7 separate regions of the Homo sapiens genome follow, and all the other regions are linked to region 1. The links are contacts of gene promoters, found by promoter capture Hi-C in blood cells and fetal thymus (Javierre and others, 2016). All regions are on one chromosome and are shown on one strand. The core of a region is centred on a gene start or on the middle of the fragment in contact, and the rest is flanking DNA. Distances in the headings are between cores, read along the strand shown.

Evidence for each region. Contacts are between HindIII fragments. The CHiCAGO score rates a contact against its expected background, and 5 or more counts as called.
Region 2: the fragment with the promoter of BLACE here is called in contact with the fragment with the promoter of MNX1-AS2 in region 1 in 2 of 17 cell types (total B cells and naive B cells); the score reaches 12.3 in total B cells.
Region 3: a fragment that was not itself captured here is called in contact with the fragment with the promoter of MNX1-AS2 in region 1 in 2 of 17 cell types (naive B cells and total B cells); the score reaches 12.8 in naive B cells.
Region 4: a fragment that was not itself captured here is called in contact with the fragment with the promoter of MNX1-AS2 in region 1 in 2 of 17 cell types (naive B cells and total B cells); the score reaches 18.4 in naive B cells.
Region 5: a fragment that was not itself captured here is called in contact with the fragment with the promoter of MNX1-AS2 in region 1 in 1 of 17 cell types (total B cells); the score reaches 7.0 in total B cells.
Region 6: a fragment that was not itself captured here is called in contact with the fragment with the promoter of MNX1-AS2 in region 1 in 2 of 17 cell types (total B cells and naive B cells); the score reaches 32.9 in total B cells.
Region 7: a fragment that was not itself captured here is called in contact with the fragment with the promoter of MNX1-AS2 in region 1 in 2 of 17 cell types (total B cells and naive B cells); the score reaches 10.9 in total B cells.

The regions. Positions count from the first base shown.
Region 1 is chr7:157,004,645-157,008,143 of GRCh38, forward strand. MNX1-AS2 (MNX1 antisense RNA 2) reads left to right here and starts at 1,663. Exons shown (of 2, transcript NR_147077.1): 1 at 1,663-1,780; 2 at 2,233-2,476. MNX1 (motor neuron and pancreas homeobox 1) reads right to left here. Exons shown (of 3, transcript NM_005515.4): 2 at 1,835-1,995; 3 at 210-1,229. The coding sequence ends at 876. RefSeq lists an enhancer at 637-1,289 and a silencer at 1,058-1,252. The HindIII fragment of the contact is 8,591 bases long and covers 1-3,499 here.
Region 2 is chr7:155,366,425-155,369,923 of GRCh38, forward strand. It overlaps BLACE (B cell acute lymphoblastic leukemia expressed), which reads right to left and starts at 1,509. Exons shown (of 6, transcript NR_103545.1): 1 at 1,385-1,509. LOC105375593 (a long non-coding RNA gene) reads left to right here. Exons shown (of 3, transcript XR_928236.4): 3 at 3,378-3,499. The HindIII fragment of the contact is 7,901 bases long and covers 1-3,499 here.
Region 3 is chr7:155,444,159-155,447,657 of GRCh38, forward strand. All of the region lies in intron 2 of EN2-DT (EN2 divergent transcript), which reads right to left. Among named protein-coding and RNA genes, the nearest start is that of EN2-DT, 11 kb to the right of the region's middle. The HindIII fragment of the contact is 4,257 bases long and covers 1-3,499 here.
Region 4 is chr7:155,471,349-155,474,847 of GRCh38, forward strand. No RefSeq gene overlaps it. Among named protein-coding and RNA genes, the nearest start is that of EN2, 15 kb to the left of the region's middle. RefSeq lists enhancers at 1-810, 4-1,766. The HindIII fragment of the contact is 7,565 bases long and covers 1-3,499 here.
Region 5 is chr7:155,489,452-155,492,950 of GRCh38, forward strand. No RefSeq gene overlaps it. Among named protein-coding and RNA genes, the nearest start is that of EN2, 33 kb to the left of the region's middle. RefSeq lists an enhancer at 435-1,168 and a silencer at 1,968-2,037. The HindIII fragment of the contact is 2,037 bases long and covers 781-2,817 here.
Region 6 is chr7:155,505,579-155,509,077 of GRCh38, forward strand. It overlaps CNPY1 (canopy FGF signaling regulator 1), which reads right to left. Exons shown (of 5, transcript NM_001393663.1): 3 at 3,316-3,499; 4 at 1,442-1,538. Among named protein-coding and RNA genes, the nearest start is that of CNPY1, 39 kb to the right of the region's middle. RefSeq lists a silencer at 1,339-1,388 and an enhancer at 3,250-3,499. The HindIII fragment of the contact is 3,118 bases long and covers 325-3,442 here.
Region 7 is chr7:155,802,126-155,805,624 of GRCh38, forward strand. It overlaps SHH (sonic hedgehog signaling molecule), which reads right to left. Exons shown (of 3, transcript NM_000193.4): 3 at 1-1,601. The coding sequence ends at 775. Among named protein-coding and RNA genes, the nearest start is that of SHH, 8.6 kb to the right of the region's middle. RefSeq lists a silencer at 2,955-3,134 and an enhancer at 3,041-3,499. The HindIII fragment of the contact is 9,246 bases long and covers 1-3,499 here.

The DNA.
Region 1 (3,499 bases), core at 413-2,912:
GGGCATGCGCTGACACCTGGCCACAGGTATTTTTGCCAACACTTCACATTGCGACTCCCCAGTAGCAGGCGCGGAGGTGGTCCTGACACCCACTTGAGACTCCGATTTTCACCCTCAGCTGCCAACCGCCGAGTAGACACCCTCCCCATCATTTCTACAAGCAAATTGTAATGCCGCGGGCATAATCCCCCAAAACTCGTGCACGCTGATCCAGTACAAAACCAATTTATTTTACATTCCATCGTGGGCGATGGGAGAAGCTAAATAATAATTTAGCATGCATACGTAGACGTTTCTTTTTATATATAAATACAATATACAAAAATAAAGACAGTACAGTTTTGAGATTTCCAGCAGTTTGAACGCTCGTGACATAATCCCCCCGACCCCAGAGACGTAAGCATAAACCCTTTTTTCTTTTTCCAAATACTCTGCAGAATGGCGGCTCCAGAGGCGGTTTCAAGTTTCATAAGTCAGGTAACACTGTGGGTTTCCGCCTTCTCGGACGCGGGGAAAGGGGAGACAGGAGGCTTCCCCTTGCGCGGGGTGGGTCGGTTCTTCTCACACGCACTCGCGCCTCCCCCAACACCAACCAAAATTAATTTTAAAAGAACCAGAGTTCAAGTTTCAGCCCCCTGGGTCTCCCTCTCGCTGTTTCTTGAAGAGCAGGTGAGGCGCCCTTGCTTAAAAGGGAAGCGCCCAGGACCGGAGCCGCGGCCGAATCCCTCCAGCCCCGGCCTGGGCGAGGGGTCCATGGGGCGGCGGTCGAGCCTGCTCTCGGGGCCGGGCCGGGTGGGTGCGGGCGCCGGGGCCTCCGGGAGAAGCCGCCGGCCGGGGCGCTCCGTGCGCGCCGCACCTGCTGGGCCGCGGGGCTCCTACTGGGGCGCGGGCTGGTGGCTGGGCCGCGGGGGCGGCGAGTCGTCCTCCGAGGAGCAGTCGGAGGAGGCGGCGTGGACGCTGGCGCCGTTGCTGTAGGGGAAATGGTCCTCGTCGTCCTCGTCCTCGTCCTCCTCGGGGTCACTGTCCCTCAAGTCCCGCAGGCGGCGTCCGCTGCCCTTGTCTCCGGGCGCTGGCGGCCCCAGCAGCTCCTCGGCTCCCGGCTCCTCCGCGCCGCCCTTCCCCGCGCCCCCGCCGCCGCCCTTCTGTTTCTCCGCTTCCTGCGCCGCCTGCTCTTTGGCCTTTTTGCTGCGTTTCCATTTCATCCGCCGGTTCTGGAACCAAATCTTCACCTGCGGGCACAAGCGGGCGTGAGAAACCGGCCACCGCCACCCCAGGGCTTCCTGTCCCCGGAGTCCCCCGGCCGCGTGCGCCTGGGCCCCATTGGGTCGGCCCTGGAATGGCCTCAGGGTGAGACGACTTAGAAGCAGAATGGGGAGGGGGCTCGTAGCTTCCTCCTCCCCGCAACCCCCCACTCAGCAGCAAACCCCAGAGCTGGGCTGGAGCTCCGTGGGAGCTAGGACTATGTCCCCAACGACCCAGGCCGGGGACTTTTCTACCCGCGCCCTCCGTCTGCGGAGGAAGGGTCAGGGCAGCTGGCTACGTCGCGGTAAATCTCAGGATGTTCCCTCCTCTCTTTCTGGAACAAAATTTCTCGAATGCGGCCTGGGGATCACCTTCTTCAGAATGAAAGGAGGGGTGGTTAAGTGCTGATTCTTGGGCCCCACCCGAAGCTACTGAATCGGCGCTCTGGGCACCTTAGATGAACCCGTGCGCCCGCCGTCTGAACCGTCGAGGCGCAGCGCTAGATGCCTCAGACCGCCCGTGGGTCACAAGTGCAAAGGTAACAGTGTCCCCTGGGAGGCCGGGATGCGTCGGGGGCGGGGAGGGCGCGCACCTGGGTCTCGGTGAGCATGAGCGAGGTGGCCACCTCGAAGCGCTTGGGCCGCGACAGGTACTTGTTGAGCTTGAACTGGTGCTCCAGCTCCAGCAGCTGCTGGCTGGTGAAGGCGGTGCGCGGCCGGCGGCACTTCCCCAGGAGGTTCGACTGCGCCTGGGCTGGGGACCAAAGGGCAGTGAGGCCCACAGCCGGCTCCGGTCCTCGCCCCAGCCCCTCCCGTTGCTGCTTGTACCACTACACTCAAGGCCCCAGCGCCAAGGCCTGGCCCTGCAGAGGGCGGGGCTGTTCCCTCACTATCAGTGCCCACTCCCCAAGGAATGCGGACTCAGGACCACCAAGTGGAAATGGATAGTTTGGAGTTAATGAGACCAATTTTTTTTTTTTTTTTTGTCTAGGAGACGTCTGAGTGTCCCTGTTAAACAGGGCCCATCGCAGGAGGCTTCCTCTCCACAGGAGCCGGCTTTGGTAGCAGTGGATTGACCCAGAGGCAAGAGGAGAACTGAGGCCAGTCGGGGGCCAGGAAGGGAGGTTCCGGGAAGCCCAGGAGTTGAAGGCTGCAGTGAGCGAGACTGCACCCCTGCACTGTACCCTGGGTGACACAGCAAGACCCCATCTCTCAATAAATAAAAAATAATAAAATAATAAAATAAAGGAGCAGTGAGTGATGAGAACCAAATCTCTCCCCCTCTCCTCACTGCGCCTTCCTAGAGATTCAGGCTCAGATCCAAACAGGTCTGGGAAGAGCTGGTCCTGCTGTTCCAGGTCTCCCTGCACTGCCTCCTTAAGACAGAAAAGGAGGAGGAGGAGGAGAAAAAGAGGAAGGAAGGAAGGGAGAGAGGGAAAGAGGGAGGGAGGAAGGAAAGAAGGAAAGAAGGAAGGAAGGAAGGAAGGAAGGGAGGAAGGGAAGGGAGAGAGGACAGGTGGAACAGGACCAAACCCAGGGTCCAAGTCTGTGTATTCACCAGGGACCCTCCCACCTTCCAAATGTTTTCCTTGGCATGCCCCCTCCTCAGGGTGCGGGCGGCAGGGGCAAGGCCTGAGGAGACTAGAAGCCTTTTCAGGACAATTCTCATTACGCAAATTACAGGCAGAGGCGCAGGCAGGATCCGGTTCTCTGTGTGTTCAAGGAGGCCTGCCCGGCTTTATTTACATAATTTCGCACGGTTACATCACAGAGAATTTTATGACCTCAAAACGAGACTTCCCTTGATTTCCCAGGAGCCTGACAAGTGTTGGACAATAAAAGAAAGAAAGCAAAGGAAAGAAAGGAGGCCAGCCCCAGGCCTGGATGAGCTCAGGTCCCCCGGGATGGGCAGTTTGCTTTAGAGGATGGCCCACGCCCCCTGCTTTAGTCAAACAAGGCCCCGAATTCCCAACTTGACAATACATTAGAACTTTAATTAAACCACTGGCTCCGGAGGGACCATTTGGGAAATGCCATCCAACAGGCAGAGACAACCAATTAAAGAAACCAAACAGGTTTTCCCCGGACCAGCGAGGAGGACTTCTCAGAACACATTCCGCCGTCTTTGGCACGGTTATGCCTGCCCTTTTGGATTGCCAGGTGCAGATACCTCTTCTGAACTTAAGACTGGTTGTGTTTAAAATTTGGCCAACTCTAGGTCAACATTTGGAATCAGAAATAGGCAAGGTGTCTCACTT
Region 2 (3,499 bases), core at 259-2,758, 1.6 Mb before region 1:
AGGCAGAAGAATTTTTCTTAGTACAGAACAAAATGAAAAGTCTCCCATGTCTACTTCTATCCACACAGACCCGGCAACCATCCGATTTCTCAATTTTTTCCCCACCCTTCCCGCCTTTCTATTCCACAAAGCCGCCATTGTCATCATGGCCCATCCCCAATGAGCCGCTGGGCACACCTCCCAGACGGGGTCGTGGCCGGGCAGAGGGGCTCCTCACTTCCCAGTAGGGGCGGCCGGGCAGAAGCGCCCCTCACCTCCCGGACGGGGCGGCTGGCCGGGCGGGGGGCTGACCCCCGCCACCTCCCTCCCGGACGGGGCGGCTGGCCGGGCAGAGGGGCTCCTCACTTCCCAGTAGGGGCGGCCGGGCAGAGGCGCCCCTCACCTCCCGGACGGGGCGGCTGGCCGGGCGGGGGGCTGACCCCCCCACCTCCCTCCCGGACGGGGCGGCTGGCCGGGCAGAGGGGCTCCTCACTTCCCAGTAGGGGCGGCCGGGCAGAGGCGCCCCTCACCTCCCGGACGGGGCGGCTGGCCGGGCGGGGGGCTGACCCCCCCACCTCCCTCCCGGACGGGGCGGCTGGCCGGGCAGAGGGGCTCCTCACTTCCCAGTAGGGGCGGCCGGGCAGAGGCGCCCCTCACCTCCCGGACGGGGCGGCTGGCCGGGCGGGGGGCTGATCCCCCCACCTCCCTCCCGGACGGGGCGGCTGGCCGGGCGGGGGGCTGACCCCCCACCTCCCTCCCGGACGGGGCGGCTGGCCGGGCAGAGGGGCTCCTCACTTCCCAGTAGGGGCGGCCGGGCAGAGGCGCCCCTCACCTCCCGGACGGGGTGGCTGGCCGGGCGGGGGGCTGATCCCCCCACCTCCCTCCCGGACGGGGCGGCTGGCCGGGCGGGGGGCTGACCCCCCACCTCCCTCCCGGACGAGGCGGCTGGCCGGGCAGAGGGGCTCCTCACTTCCCAGTAGGGGCAGCCGGGCAGAGGCGCCCCTCACCTCCCGGACGGGGCGGCTGGCCAGGCGGGGGGCTGATCCCCCCACCTCCCTCCCGGACGGGGCGGCTGGCCGGGCGGGGGGCTGACCCCCCACCTCCCTCCCGGACGGGGCGGCTGGCCGGGCAGAGGAGTCCTCACTTCCCAGTAGGGGCGGCCGGGTAGAGGCGCCCCTCACCTCCCGGACGGGGCGGCTGGCCAGGCGGGGGGCTGATCCCCCCACCTCCCTCCCGGACGGGGCGGCTGGCCGGGCAGGGGGCTGACCCCCCTCCCCCCTCCCGGACTGGGTGGCTGGCCGGGCGGGGGGCTGACCCCCCCACCTCCCTCCTGGACGGGGCGACTGGCCGGGCAGAGGGGCTCCTCACTTCCCAGTAGGGGCGGCCGGGCAGAGGAGCCCCTCACCTCCCGGACGGGGCGGCTGGCCGGGCGGGGGGCTGACCCCCCCCACCTCCCCCCCGGACGGGGTGGCTGCCGGGCGGAGACGCTCCTCACTTCCCAGACGGGGTGGCTGCTGGACGGAGGGGCTCCTCACTTCTCAGACGGGGTGGTTGCCAGGCAGAGGTGCTCCCCACCTCTCAGACGATGGGCGGCCAGGCAGAGACGCTCCTCACTTTCCAGACGGGGTGGCGGCCGGGCAGAGGCTGCAATCTCGGCTCTTTGGGAGGCCAAGGCAGGCGGCTGGGAGGTGTAGGTTGTAGTGAGCCGAGATCACGCCGCTGCACTCCAGCCTGGGCACCATTGAGCACTGAGTGAACGAGACTCCGTCTGCAATCCCAGCACCTCGGAAGGCCGAGGCTGGCGGATCACTCGCGGTTAGGAGCTGGAGACCAGCCCGGCCAACACAGCGAAACCCCGTCTCCACCAAAAAAAAACGAAAACCAGTCAGGCGTGGCGGCGCGTGCCTGCAATCACAGGCACTCGGCAGGCTGAGGCAGGAGAATCAGGCAGGGAGGTTGCAGTGAGCCGAGATCGCAGCAGTACAGTCCAGCTTCGGCTCGGCATCAGAGGGAGACCGTGGAAGGAGACCGTGGGGAGAGGTAGAGGTAGAGGTAGAGGTAGAGGTTAGAGGTTAGAGGTTAGAGGTTAGAGGTAGAGGTAGAGGTAGAGGTAGAGGTAGAGGTAGAGGTAGAGGTAGACGTAGAGGTATCCTTTAATCTTTCTAGGACAGGTACAGTGGCTCATGCCTGTAATCCCAGCACTTTGGGAGGCCGAGGTGGGAGGATCACTGGAGGCAGGCGGATCACTGGAGCCAAGGAGTTCAAGACCAACCAGGGCAACATAGTGAGACCTTGTCTCTACAAGAAGTTTAAAAAATTAGCCAAGCATGGCGGCGCATGCCTGTAGTCCCAGCTACTTGGGAGGATGAAGCTAGAGGATTGCTTGAGCCCAGAAGGCAGAGGCTGCAGTGAGCAGTGATCACACCACTGCACTCCAGCCTGGGCGACAGAGCAAGCTCCTATCTCAAAAAAAAAAAAAAAAACAGATAATCTTTCTAGGACTTGATTTCCCAGGCTCCATAATGGCAATCTGCGCAGGCAGCTTCTGGCTCTGAGTCTTCCTGTTTCTGTGGTGCCACTGCCAGCACAGGGAGGTCATTCTGTATCATGTCACTTGCTTGGTGTTTTACACCCATGGATGATGAAACAGCAACTGCAGCCTGGAGTGCTGGGAGGCAGAGAGAGTCTCGCTTCCCAGGCCATCTGGCTTACTGTGAAGGCCAGAAGCAGCACAGCCTCTCTTGGTCACCAGGGATCAGGACTCAGGTGGAGAGGGTGGGGCAGGGGCTGGCAGTGGAGACAGGTCCACACTGGGAACCAGCTGTGCCAGGCAGTGTGGCCCTGAAGCCCCTAAGGTGTGTCAAGAGGGGTCTTTCAGGAAATGGTTAGAGAGTGCAGGTGTTGTGTTTCTCTCTGACATGTAAACATATGTCTTTCTAGACAGGCAGGTCTCCCTATACCTGCCTTACGTGGGAAGCACGTCCGCAGGAGAGGTGCCACCCAGTGCCTCCAGCACTGATCAGGCCTTTCTCAGGTGTTGGGCAGGGAGAGGCAGAGCCCAAGAGAAGCCTCAGCAGAACACTAACAGTGGAAAGGAGGCAGTGAGGTGGAAGCAGCTTCTTTGGTACATGCAGAAAGTTCTAGAAAGGCCTTTTGGCTTAGAATCCTAGCTCTATTCACGTGAAGCAGCACTTCGGCATGAGGTGGTGCTTGAGGGCCCCTTGTCTGAGTAAAACGTGGATGTTGTAGCTGGTTTTGGGGGCTGTGGGACTCCCCCATCTGCACACCCCCTACTCAGCCGATGTGGTAAGCATTTAGCCACAGCAAGTGCTTACTTAGTATTTGTTGGTTCCTGATACACAGAAATCTCTGTGATCCAAGCAGTGTTTCTCCCATAGGACTCTACCCTGCCAACCCTCAGCTCGGCTCAGCTCAGCAGCTCGCTAACTGTGAAACTCGGACGGACATCCTGTGATCACTCCAACGCTTTAAAATTCATCAAAGCGCAGAGCGCTGCCTG
Region 3 (3,499 bases), core at 470-2,969, 1.6 Mb before region 1:
TCCTAGAATCATCAAATTCATAGAAGCAGAAAGTAGAAGGTGGTTGTTTTCTAAATAATATTCACCCTCCAGATATCAAATTTGCCAAGACACAAAATTTCTGTTTGAATCTTAGATATAATCATTTTCAATGTAGGAGAAGCCCTGGTAGAACTTGGGTCCTCATAAGTGATACTGGAAAAACGAAAGTCCAAAAGCTGGAAAGTCCCTTGGGAGTTCAGGAATCCAAAGTGGTCCTTCAGCAATAGGGAAGTGGAGATAGCTAATGGGTACAAAAAAGTCATTAGAAAGAATGAATAAGATCTACTATTTGATAGCACAAAGGAGTGACTATAGTCAATAATAATTTCATTGTACATTTAAGAATAACTAAAAGGGTATAATTGGATTGTTGGTAACACAGAGGGTAAATGCTTGAAGGAATAGATACTCTTATCTTCCATGATGTAATTACTGCACATGTTCCTGAATCAAAACGTCTCACACCCCACAAATATATACACCTACTATGTACCCATAAATATTAAAAACTAAATTAAAAAAGAAGTGTATCCCAGGGAGGTCAGGTAAGCTGAGAGGCACCAATAGGTGCTATAGCCCTAGAGAGACAAGGCCCAGAGTCCAGAATGATCAGAGAGATTATGCTGGAATATCAGAGGACCACGCAGAGTGGCCCTGCATGGCCACAGTTCAGAGTGTGTGGAGGACACAAGGCTGGAGAAGGGGAAAGGAATCCCAGGGCCGGGCAGGAAAGGCCTTGGAAGCCTTCGTGTTAGGAGGGCCATGTGGTTGAGGTCACGGGGCGGGGAGGGGAGGGGAGATGACAGAGTGGAAGCTCAACAGGCCCTGGGTGCTCCATTCCCAGCTCCTTCACCCGCCAGGAGACCTTGGCCGTCTGTTCCCCGAGGTACCCTTGTGGAGTGGAGATCAGGAGATAGGCCCACAACCCCTGGTCTACAACTCCAAAATCCAAATGCTTTCAAAATGGGAGGGTGTCTTCCTAACTCCTTGGACAGCAGAACCTGACTTGAACAGACATAGGCTCCTTGTGGCTGTTACCTGCTGGTTCAGCTTTTCCTGTATTTACCACAGAACTATGACTGTGTTAGATAGGGCCCTGCTCACACCCCACGGGGTTAGGTGGCACATGATATGTGCACCACCTGACCTGTCCAAAATCAAAGAAATTCTGAAACGTGTCTGTGGCCCAGAGCTTTAGATGAGAAACTGTGGACATCTAGGATCCACCATACGTGATTGTGTAGGAAAAGTCATTCATTCATTTATGAAATCTCATTTAGTGCAGATCCTGGGGTTCCCTAAGACAACCTCCAAACTTTTTTTTACAGTTACACTGTGAGTCATTATGTAGCTTTGTTGCATGTAGACATCAGCATTGATGTGCAAAAAAAAAAAAAAAAAGTGAGTCTAGCTCCACATGGATGAAGGCCGTTAAACCACTGAGTCCAACTCCACATGGATGAAGGCCGTTAAACCAGTGAGTCCAGCTCCACATGGATGAAGTCCATTAAACCAGTGAGTCCAGCTCCACATGGATGAAGGCCGTTGAACCAGTGAGTCCAGCTCCACAGGGATGAAGGCCGTTAAACCAGTGAGCCCAGCTCCACGTGGATGAAGGCCGTTGAACCAGTGAGCCCAGCTCCACAGGGATGAAGGCCGTTAAACCAGTGAGCCCAGCTCCACATGGATGAAGGCCGTTAAACCAGTGAGTCCAGCTCCACATGGATGAAGGCCGTTAAACCAGTGAGTCCAGCTCCACATGGATGAAGGCCATTAAAGGTTGTTATTGGCCATTGGTAGCAGACATTGTGCTCTTCACAGCCACACACTCACAGGTTTTTTTTTTTTTTTCAAATGCAGGTTTTACTTAAGAATGTTCTTGAAGAAACAGTGAAAAAAAAATAGTTTTATTAAAGCTCAGCTCTGGAGCACATGTCTTTTCAATATTCTGGGTGAAGAAAGGGGGAGCTGTCATACAGAAGAACAGCGGCCATCGAGGAAAAGGACGGGCGGGCTACAGCCATGAGCTGACTGAGCCCGCTTTTTCATGGAGCCTCATTTTACATGGAACGGCACCCAACAGACAAATCATGGTTATTGAGACTTAGGTCTTTGACAGACACCTTTGCAAAAATAAATGAAACTACCCTGTCGTGTTGAGGAAAGTAGTATTTACCACTAAAGGTAAAATGTGAGTTTTTAAGTGAAAATTAAAATTCTTGAAAACTTGTATCCAACATCATGAGTCAGACAACCTCCCAAATTTAAAGAGTTTTCCAATAAGATTAGTGGTGATATTAACAAATGTGATTTTGTGATACTGTTTAAGGAAATAGTTCGACATTTGGAAGACCTGCATAACTCAGTGAACCAATATTTTCCAAATGACCAATATACAGTGGCATGAAATATTTTGCAGGCTGAGGCAGGTGGGTTACTTGAGGTCAGGAGTTTGAAACCAGCCTGGCCAACATGGTGAAACCCCATCTCTACTAAAAATACAAAAAATTAACTGGGTGTGGTGGCATGCACCTGTAATCCCAGCTTCTGGGGAGGCTGAGGCAGGAGAATCACTTGAACCCAGGAAGCAAGGTTGCAGTGAGCAGAGATTGTATCACTGCACTCTAGCCTGGGTGACAGAGAGAGACTCTGTCAAAAAGAAAGGGAAGGGAAGGGAAGGGGAAGGGGAAGGAAAAGGGGAAGGAGGGAGGGAGGGAGGGAGGGAGGGAGGGAGGGAGGGAGGGAGGAGGAAGGAAGGAAGGAAGGAAATATTTTGTGGGCAAAAGAGCCATTCAAAGTGCAAGACAGATAAATGGATTTTAATGTAATAGAGTATGAAATGTTCATTGACATGGTTTCAGATTCCACATTGCAACCAACCTTTAAGAAACCACCATTTGTTGAATTTGGGGGTAATATCAAGGAAAAATGTTCACAATTATCTGCCAAGGCTAATAAAATACTCCTCCAGTTTTCAACTGCATATCTGTGACAGGTTGCATTTTCTTCATATACTTGAACCAAAATAATGGATTGCACAAACAAAAATGAGAATCCAACTATCTTCTATTAAGCCAGATATTAAAGAGGGGTGCAAACATGTACACCACTCTCCAGACTAATTTTTTTTTGTTTGGGGGAATAGAATAAGTGTTCATTAAAATATGTTAAGTAAACATGAAGTGGGTTTTTATTGTCATTGTAAATGAATCAATTAATCAATATATTTAAAACATTACCATTTCATCATACTGCGCAAATCACCGGATAGACATCTAAATCTATCCGTTGCTATATACAAAAGCTCTTTGGGGGGCTCAGTAAATTTCTAAGAGCATAAAGCAGTCCTGTGACCAAAAAGTCTGGGAGCACTGGCTTCATGTTACTGTGTGCCAGTCCCTTTAGCAGGACTGGGGGTACAGCCAGGAAGACGAGGCCCTGCCCTCTGGAAGGTATGTTCTAGATGAGAGACCAATAA
Region 4 (3,499 bases), core at 541-3,040, 1.5 Mb before region 1:
CACCAGTGACTCATCACTCGCAGAGAGAAAAACATCTTTTATATGTAGAGACGGGAACGCGCCCTGTGGATTCAGAGCCCCAAGGAAACAAAAACAGCACGTCAGAGGAAGAATGTCATACAAACCCGCTGGAGTCACAAGGCAAAACAGCCCCCATACCTAAACGCCCGGCGTGACAATGGCCTTTGTGCCTGGCGCCGTCGGGGGGAGCTGGGCGCCTAGCGGGTGGGGCAGGCGGAAGTTGGACACATTTCCACGCAGGTGAGGCCATCCATGGGGTGATGCGGGTGTTGGGGCTCGCTGCTTTCGCTCCATGAAGATTTGCAGCCCCCCCCAGCCAACCCACCCCATCCCTTCCCCCCACAAGGGTATTTCATCCACACTGTTTTTTAAATGCTTCCTAGTCAAACTTGAATATGCAATGAGACGCGGGAGCTTTGTGGCGGAAATATAATTAAACTGGGGAAAGATGTAAAAGCTGAAGAATGGGATGACATCAGGCTGATTTCACACTCGGCAGTCGGATCGCTGGGCCCAAGCCGCGCTCTTGCCACGCAAGGCAGATCAAAGTGCCCTGCCACCGCTAAAAAGGCAAAAGGGGACTTAAGTATGCTAATCCCCAGGACAAATATATTTTAATCTTGTTAGAATACAAGTTAATGCTGCAGCTCAGTGGCTGAACTTGGTCAGACTGTAGAGATCCATTTTTATTTTAGCTATGAATGAGCTAGACCTCTTGGTTTATTCATCGGTAATAAAAGTAAATTTACAAAACGAACCCCTCTTTGGGCTGTGTCACCCCCACCTTGAGCTCTCCTTACTGGGGACTGGGGAATTCCAGAGGCTTCCAAGATGGGAGCATCCCTAACACCATCCATCCTTCTCCGACCTGTCCCCTTCTGTAGAGCATCCTGATGGCCGAGGAAGGAACTCTGCTCACGCAGCAGAGAAGAAACAGGGAAACTCAAAAATTAATTAAAAGATTCTCCAAAGCAATCTGTTTCCCTTTAGGCTTGTGGTTTGACAACCAAACCAATTCCTTTCTGTCAGCCCTCTCACTTTAATTTTTGCAATGTCAATTTTCATTACTATTAATTATTTGCCAAGCTCCAACTGTACATTTGGCATTGCTCTGATGAGCAAGAAGCTCTCAGGTTCCTCCCTCTTTAAGTGTCGATTCCTGGAAGATATGAATATGCAAGTTTCTGCGTGTGTGTACATGTAAAATATTGGGCACACATAGAAGAAGAAATGTCAGCCTGTAGAGCTCCCCTTGAAATAAAACCACTGTGGTAAAATATTAAGCAGAACCACGGATATATCTGCACAGAGGAATGTGTGTGTGTGTGTGTGTGTGTGTGAGAGAGAGAGAGAGAGAGAGAGAGAGAGAGAGAGAGAGCGAGCCAGCCAGCGAGCCAGCACTTAACTGTAAGGTTACAGAAGGTTAAACGGCCCTGCAGAGCCTGCCTGCTAAATATTGCTGATGGCAGCCGCGTCTAAAAGGCAATTTCTGTCTTTCTGCTCTAGCGTGTGTTAGAATTCCCTCTGCCTCAGGCAGAAAACCTGACTCCCACTAAAGTGTGCTGCACAGCCCTGCATTCCAAAGCCTGTCTGTGCCCTTCCGGCTCCCTGGCCTCAGCAGGGGGGGCGGGTGCAGGAGGCTATGCGCGCACACACAGTCCCCCAGGCAGGCCAGGCAACTGGCAGCCCGAGGGGAGGGGCAGCTGGCAGCAGTATCCCCCTCCCCCACAGAGAGCTTGGAAGGTTGGGAGGAATCCACCCACCCCTGACTGTCCCTGGTTTCCAGGACTCGGGAATGTCCATCCCTGCCATATTTTTGTCTGTGTGGGAAGCAGACACACTGTCACTACTGTAAGCACACAATTGATAAACGGTGAGTTTCCAAATTCCCGGGAAGAAAAGCTGGACAAAGACCCTAGAAGGGAAGTGTCTCCCATATTCGTGTTTCTCCTAATCCCTTCAGTGTTCTGCCCTTTAGCTGTAGCCAGCTTAGTGCACACTCTAGCACTTCCGTTGCAGTTCGTGTTCTGGAAGTCACATTTCCCAGGCATTGGTGTAATGTCTCTTCCTGTCTCAAATAATAATAACACCCAATGTTGATTGAGTTCCTACTAGGTCTCAGTGTAGGAGTTTCTGAGGGCGGCCGTAACAGTAGCACACACTGAGAGGTTCACACGACAGAAGTCTATTCTCCGAGTCCTGGAGGCTAGAAGGCCAAAATCAAGGTGTCAGCTGGGCTCTCTCTGAAGGCTGCAGGGGAGACCCTTCTCGCCTCTTCCTGGCTTTTTGTGAAGGCTGGCAACCCCTCACTCCAATCTCTGTCTTTGCTGTCACACGGCCTTCTGCCCTGTGTCTGTACCCAAATTTCCCTTTGCTTATAAGGACACCAGTTACATTAGATTTGGGCCCCCCTTAATTCTGTGTGACCTCCTCTGATCACATCTGTATGGCCCTATTTCCAAATAAGGTTCCGTTCACATATTCCCAGGACATTAATGTGGGAGTACACTGTTCTACCCAGGACAGCCAATACTCACCATTGTATGTGGGTTATCTTCAGTCACTCTCATAATGCACCCCACCAGGTGGCTACTGGTCTTAACACCGTTTTACGGGGGAGAGGACTGAGGTCAGGGAAGGGAAGCTATCCGGGCTGGCCAGGGTGTGTGGGGCTGTGTGAGCTCTTATTTGCTGTGTGGCATTGCTCTCCGCGACCTTGGCTGGTTTACATCACCAGCAACATAATCCTGACTTGGTTTAGGCCTGGCCAGACTGCATGTGTGTGTCCCCAGGGAGACGCTGTCCCCCAGCACCGACGACATGCATGTGAACTTGCCTCGTAATCTGCAAGGGTGAAGCAAACACCGATGGCACTGGTGTCATGCCTGCTGTGCCTTTTCCTCTCTGGGCCTTGGTTTCCTCATCTGAAACCTGCAGATAATAGAATTAACTTGAAAGCCTGCAGTGACAATCACATGAGAGAGTGCCCATGGGCACTGGGATCCCGCCTGGTGTACAGTGAGCACTCAGTAAGTGTCTGCCAGGGCTGGCTGTGATTTTCCAACTGCAGACATAGCAAATAATGAACTCGTATGTGCTATCCTTTGGTTGTTTCAGTTCCCTGTAAGTCCCGGCTCCCTCCTCCTCTCTCCTGGAGATCTGAGGCTCTGCAGCAGCCTGATGCCACCCTCAGGGCTCTGGAACCAGCAGGCCAGAGGGAGACACCACGCAGCCTGCCACCGCTCCTTACCTGCTGTGCCTTGGTTTCCTCTATGCTAGATGGGGGAATTAATCTGCCTCAGAGGACTGTTGAACTTAGACACGTAACAAGCCCGGCACAGAATAAATGCTCAGTCAAAGGCAGTGACCGTTCTTACGGAGGCAGGAGCCAACGGGGATCCTCCTTGCCCACTGCAGGTCATGCCATCTCAGGGTTCCCTTGGGTGCTCTGCATTGCACGTGCCCAGTAAGGTGCTGA
Region 5 (3,499 bases), core at 549-3,048, 1.5 Mb before region 1:
CTCGTGATAGGCAAGGCACTGTGCTGGGCGGGGCAGGTACAACTGATCTTCCAGAGTCAGGAGCATAGGGGTCTGGGAGTGAGACCCCCCCACCGCGCACACACTCTCCTGCTGGGAAGCCTCAGGGAAACTGGGTGCCCACCTCCCCACTTCAGCCAGGTCTCAGCCTCCCGGGGATGCTCTTGAGGCCGACCCTCGGGATGCCGCCCCGTCCTGCCCCTCCAGGGTAGGCCCCCACGAGCAGGGGCCTGGACTCCATGGGTAGACAAGTCTTGTGTGGATTGGGACCGGAGCTGGTAAGGCCAGGAAGGGGCAACTGTAGGCACTGCCCGGGGAGGGGCAGAATCATGCTGTTGCCCAGTGATGCCAGGTACACAAAGGCAAAGCTGGAGGGACAACGTGGAGGCCCAGACTCATTCGGGTGCATTGAGAGTCAGTGGTGGTGTGCAGGGAGATGTGATCGCAGGCCTGCTTCTAGAGACTTCTCTGGCAGCAGGTGGAAGGGCAGGTGGGAGGGAGGCCGCCACTTTGAGGCTGGGACAGAAGGGTGAGGACCTGCACTGGGCATGAGGGCAACCACAGACACACGCAGAGCCATGGAAGCCAGAGCTGTGGAACAGATCTGTGCCCAGTGCCGGTGGGGCAGGCTGGCCCCTCGGGCGGCTCTGTGTCTGTTCTCTTTGGGCCCAGGCTGTGTCCACCTTGCCAGGCAGTGGGAGAGAGGCAGCATCCAGGCACCCCATCCCATACACCAGGGAGCGGCACCGGCTGGGACCATCAAGCTTCCCTGGAAGGACAGCAGAGCGTGGTCACTTTCACACCGCCGAGGGGAGGCTCCCTCAGTCACAGCCTCCCATCACAGGAGGGAACCGGGGACGCAGAACCGGGGGGACAGGGGCCCAGCTCCCGGCCTCGCCCCGCCCAGGGAGGACTGTCCTGAGCACCGCTGCCCAGGCCTTCATGCTTCAGAAGCTACCAGAAGCAGAGGCTGAACGCGGCCGCCCCGGCCACTGCAGAGCCCAGGAAGGGCAGGGCGCTGAATGGCCCGCCCAGCTGCACGCATGGCTGCGTCTTCTGTGTGCCCTGCGTCTTTAAGAGAAAAGGAGGGACCTCTCAGGAAGTGGCGGGGCATCTGCTCCCGCAGGAGAAACTCTTTTACATTTCTAATCAGGAGCCTGGGCTAGGGAGTGTCCTGCCCCCGTGCCCGCAGGGATGGGGGACAATGAGGCTCCTCAACTGTTCCAGGGTAGCCCTTGCAGGCAAATCCGAGAAGGCTACGGCTTCAGAAGGAAAAGAACCAGGGAAGAAGTCCTCACAGGAATAGACCGGGCCTCGGGCGAGGCTGAAATTCTTCCTCTACACCAGGACTGCTACAGGAGGTTGTTTGGTTTCTCTGCTGGTGCTGTCTTCACACACTTACAATTAATATTAGCAGCAAGTGTCACTAAGGAGCAAGGAGCGATTTCTCCAGGAACCGGAAACTCCCCTCTGCCCCCCTGCAGCACCCAGCAAGCCGGGGCTGCCTAAAGGCCTGCCACAGGGGCTGGGTTTCTGGAATGTTCTTTCATCCCCTGGGAGTCCTGGGCTGCTCCGTCCGGCCCTCCCTCCGTGAGAAGGGGAAGCCGAGGCTTGGATGAGCTGCCCTGGCCGGCTCCGGGCTCCACCCCCCGCGCCCTGGCTGTTGCCATGGTTGGCCTCAGGCATCCGGCTCGGCCTACAGGAAACACGCTTGTAGGACTCGCTAGGGCAGGAGAGAATGGGGTAACGCGGAAGATGGATTTTTTTTTTTTTTTGAAATGAGCAAACAGTCTAGAGAACCCCACAGAAACAAAAGGGGAAAAGAAGGAGACGATCCAACAAAGGCCATTAGAGCGAAGAGCATCAGCGACATAGACGCAGCTACCAGGCGACCAGGCGCAGGAAGGGTGCGGCCGCAGCGGGTGTCGCGACCGCAGGAGGGCCAGGGCGGGGCGGCAGAGGGGCTCCCGGGACCAGGGTGCAGGAACCCGACAGGGAGGGAGAGACGGGGTGGGAAACAGGTGGACAGACAGACCTCCGGGGCTGAGGCGGAGAAACAAGACCCAGGCTGGAGAGGGGAGGGCGAGAGATGGCCACCGCCCCAGCACGTCGGAGTGGGCGCTGGGAGTTCATGGAATCGTGGAGTAATCAAAGGAACTCAGAAACCGCCCCACGAACCCTAGATTTTACCGGGTTTCTACAGAAACTGAAGCCAAGGGGTCCAGCACACAGCCCAGGGCCATCCCTTCGGCCTGAAGCAGTGTCCTCACCACACTAGGTCTCCGTGGGCAGCTCCTTCCCTGGCCCCACCCGGCTTGCTTTGGAAATACCCAGATGTACTTGAATACTGGGATTAAAAAAAAACATGGAAGGAGAAAGGAAAATGCTGAGAGGGGGGAAGGGTTAATCCAAGAGGGAAGAGACAAGCAGAGCAGGAAGCAGGAAGGAGGAGGAGGCTCGGGGCAGAGAGGAGAGGGACCTGGTGAAGTGGGGGGCTGAAGGCGCGGGGACCACCCCAGGCATTCTGGGTGCCATCTCTGTACGTGACAAATGTCCACACTCAAGCTCACAGCGGCCTCTCTCAACCGCCTCCGCGCAGCAGGGTTATCCATGGCTGAGACTCCGGGGACAAGGGGTAGGCAAAAAGAAACACAGCTGAGATAAAAGTCAGGGGACGGAGAGAGGAAACCAGTCCGGAAATGGCAGAGAGGAAGAGTTTGCTTCCTCCTGGGAAGGTTCCCTGTAAATGGGTTAGGACGTCTTTATTATGGAAAGATGACTCTGTGGTATCATGCAATAAGCTTGGTAGTCATGGAAAAGAAATCTGTATGGGAAATTATACTTTTGACTTATGACAGAGTGAAGAGTCACGTTGCCCATCCTTTCATTCAGATTATTAGTTAAATGAGGAAATAACCACAGACTGTTCCATTCTATTTGGTATACATTTCTAGAAGTCTATGAAATCAATCTGTATTTGGGAAGACCACTTCCTTCAGAGCACTTTATTTTGTGAACTATTTTGGCACCTGAGGATCCAACGGTCATGGTCCCCTTTGCCATCAAAATACAATAAGTGGAGCTTACAACTAACTTAATGTATACATGTCCATTTCTTTTAAGTGTGGATGTTGGTCTGAAGGATTTCTTCAAACAGTCTTGTCACTAATTTTATCATGTGACCAAAAATGAGCACTGGACATTGGATTTTCAAGATTTTCCCTGATAAAAATGAATCCTCTAATCCTCCCCTAATTGAACAATTCTGCATGTGATTTGGGTTTGAATTGTAAATTATAACCCTTTTCCTATTTTCTAAAATGCTCTTTTAAAAGTCTTGTAAATTCACCAGTAGTCTTCATCATTTGAGTAGTAAATGTAGTCAATTAATCTTTTTGGAAGCATTTTAGGATGAGACTTCTGGATTACTGTTCATTTTAAGACCAAGAGTTAATGAGGAAAAAAAGCCTTCCACCTCTGC
Region 6 (3,499 bases), core at 634-3,133, 1.5 Mb before region 1:
ACTAGTTACTGGAACCCTCTCTAGTCCTCCTGGAGCATCTGAGAGAGGGCCCATGTAGCAGTGGATCTGCGTTTGTCATAGACCACGTCCTTTATGAGGAAAAAATAGGGAAATTAATATTTCAAATATTGTTCATCACATTTTTGCTTCTATCTGAATGCCTACATACATCTCTGAATTGTTTGAAACACTTTAAAAACATTTCCTGTGGGAAGTTGTGGTCATGGACATCACACATTTCTATAGTATATCTCCCACATCAAAGAAAAATACCCCAAATGCCTGAATAATCCTGACTACGTCGTCTCACTGTATTCTTTTGCAAGCTTCATTAAAACTGGATTTTAAACAGAAACAACCCAATTATCTACTCAGAGTATAAGCAAAAAAGACAAAAACAAAACCAAAAACAAAAAAAACAAAACTTTACCTGTTCTGTTAATGGGAGATTTGTGTACTTCTTGTTTAATAACTTTTGATGACATGAATATTTATCTACAAATGTTCAGTAGCTGTTATTTTAAGGACTTTGGCACTACATTTGATATAATGGATGTAGGTGTATTATATACTTTATTGTAAACAACTGCTGAATGCTAATTGTCTCAAACTTCCACATTGTTTAAAAGTACCCCACTGGCTTTAAATCATTGTCTTCATATCTACTCACTCATTTCTTCCCAAAGATATCCAAAAGAATGCACAACTGTGTACTCCATTCTTATAAATGTATTAAACAAGCATCCAAGTTAGGGGACTAGAAGGTCTACGTACAGCCAACAGAGCGGAGAGTCAGTGACCATCGCTTTCAACTTTGTATATTATAAATAAAATTCTGCTCATTTTTTCCAGCTTCTGAGTGTGTGTATATGCTTAAGAATTAACTATTATTTTCCACCCTCTGAGCCAGAAAAAAATTTTTTTTAAGAAGTAGATACAGGAATGGAACCTGGAAAAAAATCCAGCATCCCCCCAAACAAACAAACAAACAAACAAACAAAAAAACTTTAGAAAGTTCTTACAAAATAAAAATCGCACCTTCTGCTGCTGTAGCAGATACTCAAGCCATGAAGTGAGGGTCTCCTTCCCTGGTCCAGGATGGAAAAATCCTCTCTCTCAAAGTTTTTAAAAAGAAAGTGCTTTGGAGTCTTCTAATTCTGAACAAGAATTTTCTCCTTAACTGGAAATCAAGAATGTTTGAATTCACTTAATATATAGAGGAAAGAAAGTACAAAGAGGAAGGCCACACAGCCCTGTGGTTTCTGTTTATCTGTTTTCTCTCACATGCTGTCGTTTCTGATTCAGCGGAGACGGGGGATCCTGTGTCAGAGCCGTGGATCGCAGAGGCAGCGAGGCTCGGTCTGCAAACAAGACGCTGCAAGGCTGAGTGAGAGAGAGAGGGTGTGCGAGCAGCGAGCACATGTTACATCAGACACAGTACCTGATTTTTCACTGCACAGCTTGTCAGCTAGATAGTGTGTCTCCTGGGCGATAAGTGAGGATATTTCATCTTCATACTCTTCTATTATAGTTTCACACTGTAGAAACATAATAACAACATATGTGGATAGACGCACACTGGCGGGGCACTTTGTTAGGAAGGACTTTGCAACAATTTATTAGCTAAACATAGGAAATCATGTAACCAAGGTGGTCCATTTTTATTCGCCCTTTTGGTTTAATACATCATTGCATTGGATTAACCCTCTTCCCAGAATGTTAATTGCATCATTTTCCTGGGGCTTAAGTAAATGATGAGTTGTGTTGGAAGACATGGGAGCCTGAGGAAGGAACATCTCTTTGCATGTTTCGCTTCCTTAAATCGGACTGGAAGTCATAGGAAGAAATGGACCTCCTATCGAAGGAGCTGAAAAGTCCAACGGTTTTTAAACTAAAAAAAAAAAAAAAAAAAAAAAAAAAAGAAGACCACAGCTCCCCGAAATGATTAAACCAGTTTCCTTGTGATTTAACATAATAATCCATTTTGTGGCTTGAAAGTGTGAAAACAATTAAGCCTTCTCAGCAATCAAAACAAACGCATCTTCAATTTCACTGTGGAGAACACCCTTGACAGTTACTTCGGGAGGTGTCTTTTCATGCTGTTTAGAGATCCATCCAACATTTCACTTCACTTAAAAAAAAATACCTGACCTTTCAGAGAAGAGGGTGCTCAAATACACCCCTGCATTTGAAAATCTTAAATTCTAACTGAAGTATGTTTCTTTGTTAAGGAACTACCAGGTTATACTTTCGGGAGCTGTGAAGTTACCTAGTGGTATTCACCAGAGACTTGTAAATCATTTTCTGAGTTCATTAAGCAAGACTCTAAAAATGTTTAATGGCATTTTAAAAGATTTAAATTCGACTCTAATGTGCCTATTTAAAACCTGTGAAATACAAACACACGTATTCATTGTCATTCTTATTCTGTAGTACTTTTAACCCTGATTATTGCCTTTACTTTCTAGTTAAAATAAAATCTTTAAAAATCGGCTAAAGCCCTTATTTCAAGGTTTCAGCAGGCCTGGTATTTTGGCCAATGTGTGAACTTAATACATTTTTTAAAACAGGACTGCCCATCACTTTGTCTGATTCAACAGCATTGACTAAAGTGAAAAATATTGCAACGTATTTTGCCAAGCATATTCTAGCAAGCCAGAGACTAGCATTCACAAAAAATCAACATTACACTGGAAGGAAATTTGGCATCAGGCTAACTATCATACCTAAGCCTTTGTTTAACTTAGTTTGGGCTAGAATATTCGAATTAACTCAGGATACAATTCTCCCTCCTCTGTCAAGCCTTAGAAAAAAAGAGGTGGTTGCATCACTCTCCCTCTGTCATTTGGCTGTAGATATTTGAAAGCGGCATTCGTTTTAATTTGGCTTTTAACCTAGAAACCACAGCCCCTGATTCCTTATGTGGAAACCTGTGAGAGACCTTCCTTGCACCAGCACTGACTAAGACCACTCTGGAGTCCCCACACGAGCAAAATGGTTTAAGCAAAACGTTCTGCAAAACTGTCTTAAAGTCCCCGGGACTTGTGCACAGCACCTTCCGTAAAGTATCACTGAGACGTGTCCATTGATCACCATAAATTGCCACAACCCCTTAGGTGTCTCAAAAGTCAAGTTACTAAACGCATGGTGAGCACTTAAGCAGCAAGACAACAAAGTCAGCAGATGACATTTTAATGTGCATTTTGATGTTCCATGTCTTGAAACTCAACCACAACAAGAGTAGAAAACAACAAAAAAGAGTTCCAAAAACACGTTTCTGGATCATACGATTCATCTGCAAGGAAGAGAGCTTACCGCAAATTTCAAAGGTCTGTAAGCATCAGAATAAAAATACAATTTTTTAAATTCTTGGTATATTTTGTCTCCTTTCCTAGGAGCGAATCTCTTGAAAGTTCTCTCCTTCGTCACAGGGTCTTCCTCAAGCTTGTAGTCGTTCATTCGCTCACAGACTTTCTCCAAAAGATCCGTTAGGAACGCC
Region 7 (3,499 bases), core at 376-2,875, 1.2 Mb before region 1:
GTGTGTATGTTGTGTGTGTAACAGTCTTGGCTTCCAAGAATGTGGCAAAATGGTGAATACAAAGGGAATATGAAACCATAAAGACAACAGAGGAGATGGCTGTTACATCGGAAACTAGTTAAATTAAAATAATATATTTTCATATTTTACACTATTTCAAAAATGAAATGTAATTCAGTTAAGTATTGATCTCTCAAAAAATCTAATTTACAATTCTGTGTATAAAAATATAATTTGTGGACCCCCATGAAGCACGTTTGAGTTTGCACTTGCTGAGAAGCAGGAGATGGAAGGGAGGGATGGCGGGGACAGAGGTTTGCTTTCTGACAGCCGGGACGAGGGACATGTAGAAAAATAGACTCTGAGCAGGTTGCTTGGCCTCACAAAATAATCTTTCCCCCGTGAGTACAGTTCACATGATCATAATAAATTATCCAAGAAACAAACTATTTAAGGCTCTTGAAGGTCCGGTTCATATTATTTAAAACATCTATTCATACCAAACAAATAAATAGCCAGGAGAGGAGGAAAAAATAACCAAAATAAAACAATAACCAAAAAAATTCAAAAAATATATATCAACTAAGCACAACAACAAAACTTCCCGGGGTCCTTGTTTCCTTAGAGTCTACTTTGGACTGTCCTACTTTATTATTCTTATTCTTATTATAACTCAGTCTGGTTCGTGCGCCTTTTCCGAGTGTCTTTTTGCTTTGCGTTGCTGTTGCTGCCCCGCCCCGCCCCCTCCCGCGCCCCTCCCCCGGCCCCCCGGCTTCAGCTGGACTTGACCGCCATGCCCAGCGGGTGCAGGGCCTCGCTGTCCAGGAGCCAGGTGCCTATTTGGTAGAGCAGCTGCGAGTACCAGTGGATGCCCGCGGTGGCCCCCGCACCCGGAGCGTCGGCAGCACCTGGAGCGGTTAGGGCTACTCTGCCGCCGCCGCCCCCGCGGTCCCCGCCGCCGCTGTCCCCGCCGCGGTCCGTGCGCGCGGGCGCCAGTGCAGCCAGGAGCGCGTGCGCCAGGCGGAAGGGCGCGAAGGCCCGGTGCGCCCAGCTGTGCTCCTCGATGACCGCGTAGCACGAGGCCAGCACCCGGTTGATGAGAATGGTGCCCTGGGCCGTGAGCGGCGCGTAGGCGCCCGCGGCCTCCTCGCTTAGGGTCACGCTGTGCACAGCGGCGGGCAGGAGCCGGCGGTCCCCGTCACGCTCGGCCACCACGTACACGCGCTGGCCCGGGCGCACGCGGCTGGCGAACAGCGCCCGAGGCCCCAGTGCGCCCCCGGAAGGCGGCCCCGAGCCCGAGGACGCCTCGGGCTCCCCGGTGGCCGAGTCGTTGTGCGGCGCCACAAAGAGCAGGTGCGCGGCGGTGAGCAGCAGGCGCTCGCGCGGCTCCCGCGTCTCGATCACGTAGAAGACCTTCTTGGCGCCGTCGTCGCGGTCCAGGAAAGTGAGGAAGTCGCTGTAGAGCAGCCGGCCCTGGTCGTCCGCCGCCAGCACGCGGTCCCCGGGGCTCAGGTCCTTCACCAGCTTGGTGCCGCCCTGCTCCAGGTGCACCGTGGCCGAGCCCGGGAAGCAGCCTCCCGATTTGGCCGCCACCGAGTTCTCTGCGGGTGAGGAGAAGGGAAAGAAGAGAGGACAGGGCATTGAGTTCCGAGAGGGAGGCGCGTCTCGGGGAGGAGGGCGCACGCTTGGTGCCCGCGCTCCTAGGCCAGGGGTGCGCAAGGCGCGGGGCGGGGCGATTGATTCCAGGCGGGTCCCGCACACACCTCCCTCCCCCAACCCCACTGCCCCAGGGACAGGATTCCGACACATTCCTTAACGACTCTCTAAGTCTGGGCTGGCGGTCACAGAGGTTGGCTGGCGTTTCCTGCAGAGGCCGGTGACACTCTTTCCTTCCGCCTTCCTCCAACCCCACCCCCAGCTCCGCACACACCCGGCCTCGCCGCGAATCCATCCAGAGGGTGTTTGCTCTGCACTTGGATTCCTCAGGAAGCCTCCTTGAGCTCCCGCGGGCGCCGGGCGCACCCTCCTTCCCTCCCGCCCCGGCGCGGGGCGCGGCGCCTGCTCGCGCACTCAGCACCCGGGCTGCGCGGCGGAAACCCCTGGCCCGCCTGCCCGCCTGCCCGCCTGCCCGCAGCACCCTGCCGCGCCTCGGCGTGGGCCTGCGGAGGGGCGGGGGCGGGGAGTGAAAAATAGCTGCAGTAGTTGTAGCAACTGGACAAACATTCCAGAGATTGGCCGAGGTGTGAAAATCCGAGGCTTGTGTGGATTTTCTAATTAAAATCCAATAAAGGGCCCAGCATTGTCATTGTGATTTCTGGGATAAACAGGAGACACTCTTGGAAGGGGACACTTCCATTTTCTCCCCTCCCTGTTCTCAGCTCACTCTCTCCCCAGCTCGCGGGCCTCCCCCTCCCTATTTGCTCAGGTGCAACCCCCCCCCACCCCGTGTGCAATTCACAAGCACTATTTGCACAGCCAGGCCTCTCTTCCAAGCACTCAAGATGTGTATTTGAATTTTAAATGGCGGGGCCTGTTCGGAGCGCTGGAAGCGCCGGGTCTCAAGGCCCCTTGACTACCCGCTTTCTCGAGCCCTCTGTCGCTCTCTGAGGCTCACTGTCCCCAGGACAATAATTGAAGTTGGGGCGGAGCGCAGGGGGCCGGGGAGGAGGGCGGGGAGGGCCGTCTTCTTTGCATTCCAATCTCCGGGATCATGCTTTTTGCAAATAGAGATTGCCAGAAAGAATCTTCCTGCTGGAATTACAGGGGGCTTTTAATCTTCTCATCGGTTTCTCTGGCATGAAGTGCGGGGCTGGCCGTTGGAGGCCCTCCGTAGCCCCCCGGAATGCGACCCCGGGCGCTGGCGAGCCCGAGTCGTCGAGTCGCACGGCCCGGCTTGACACGCTGCGCCCCGCGCCCCCGCCCGTGTGCTCAGAATGCCAATGAGCGGCTCCCGCGCCGCGGCTCCGCTCTCCCGGCGCGATCCGGGGGATGGATTAGCGCTGCTCACTTGGGAGGAGGCCTCCGGAGACCCCCGCTAGGGGGACCCCGCGGGCAGGGAGCCGGGGAGGAGGTTTTGCGCAGGGGGCGCCCTGGGCCCAGGGGCCGCCGCCGAGCCCGCGAGGTGGGGGCGCCGCCTCCTGCCTGCCTGCAGCCGGGAGCTCTCCGGGCCGCACACCCGCCCCTGCCGCCCCCGCTCCACGCCTTTGCTTTCTGTGGGGACGAGAAGCCACTCTAGCCTTTACCTACAAGTGTGCCTTGACACCTTAACAGTGTTTTCCTACTAACATAGTGCCATTAACATGGAATTTAGGAGACAAGTAGGGAAGCCTGGAAGGGGGTTGAGGAAGGCAGAGTTTCCCCGAAATTCACCGTGAACGGCTTTGCTAAACGTGCCAATTTATGCGGGCGGAGAAGAGCGCTGTGCACACAGCCTCGGGCCGGAGGTTTGCGTGCGCGCGATGGCGCCTCCTCCACGGCTGTTCCTCGCCGGCAACAGCGT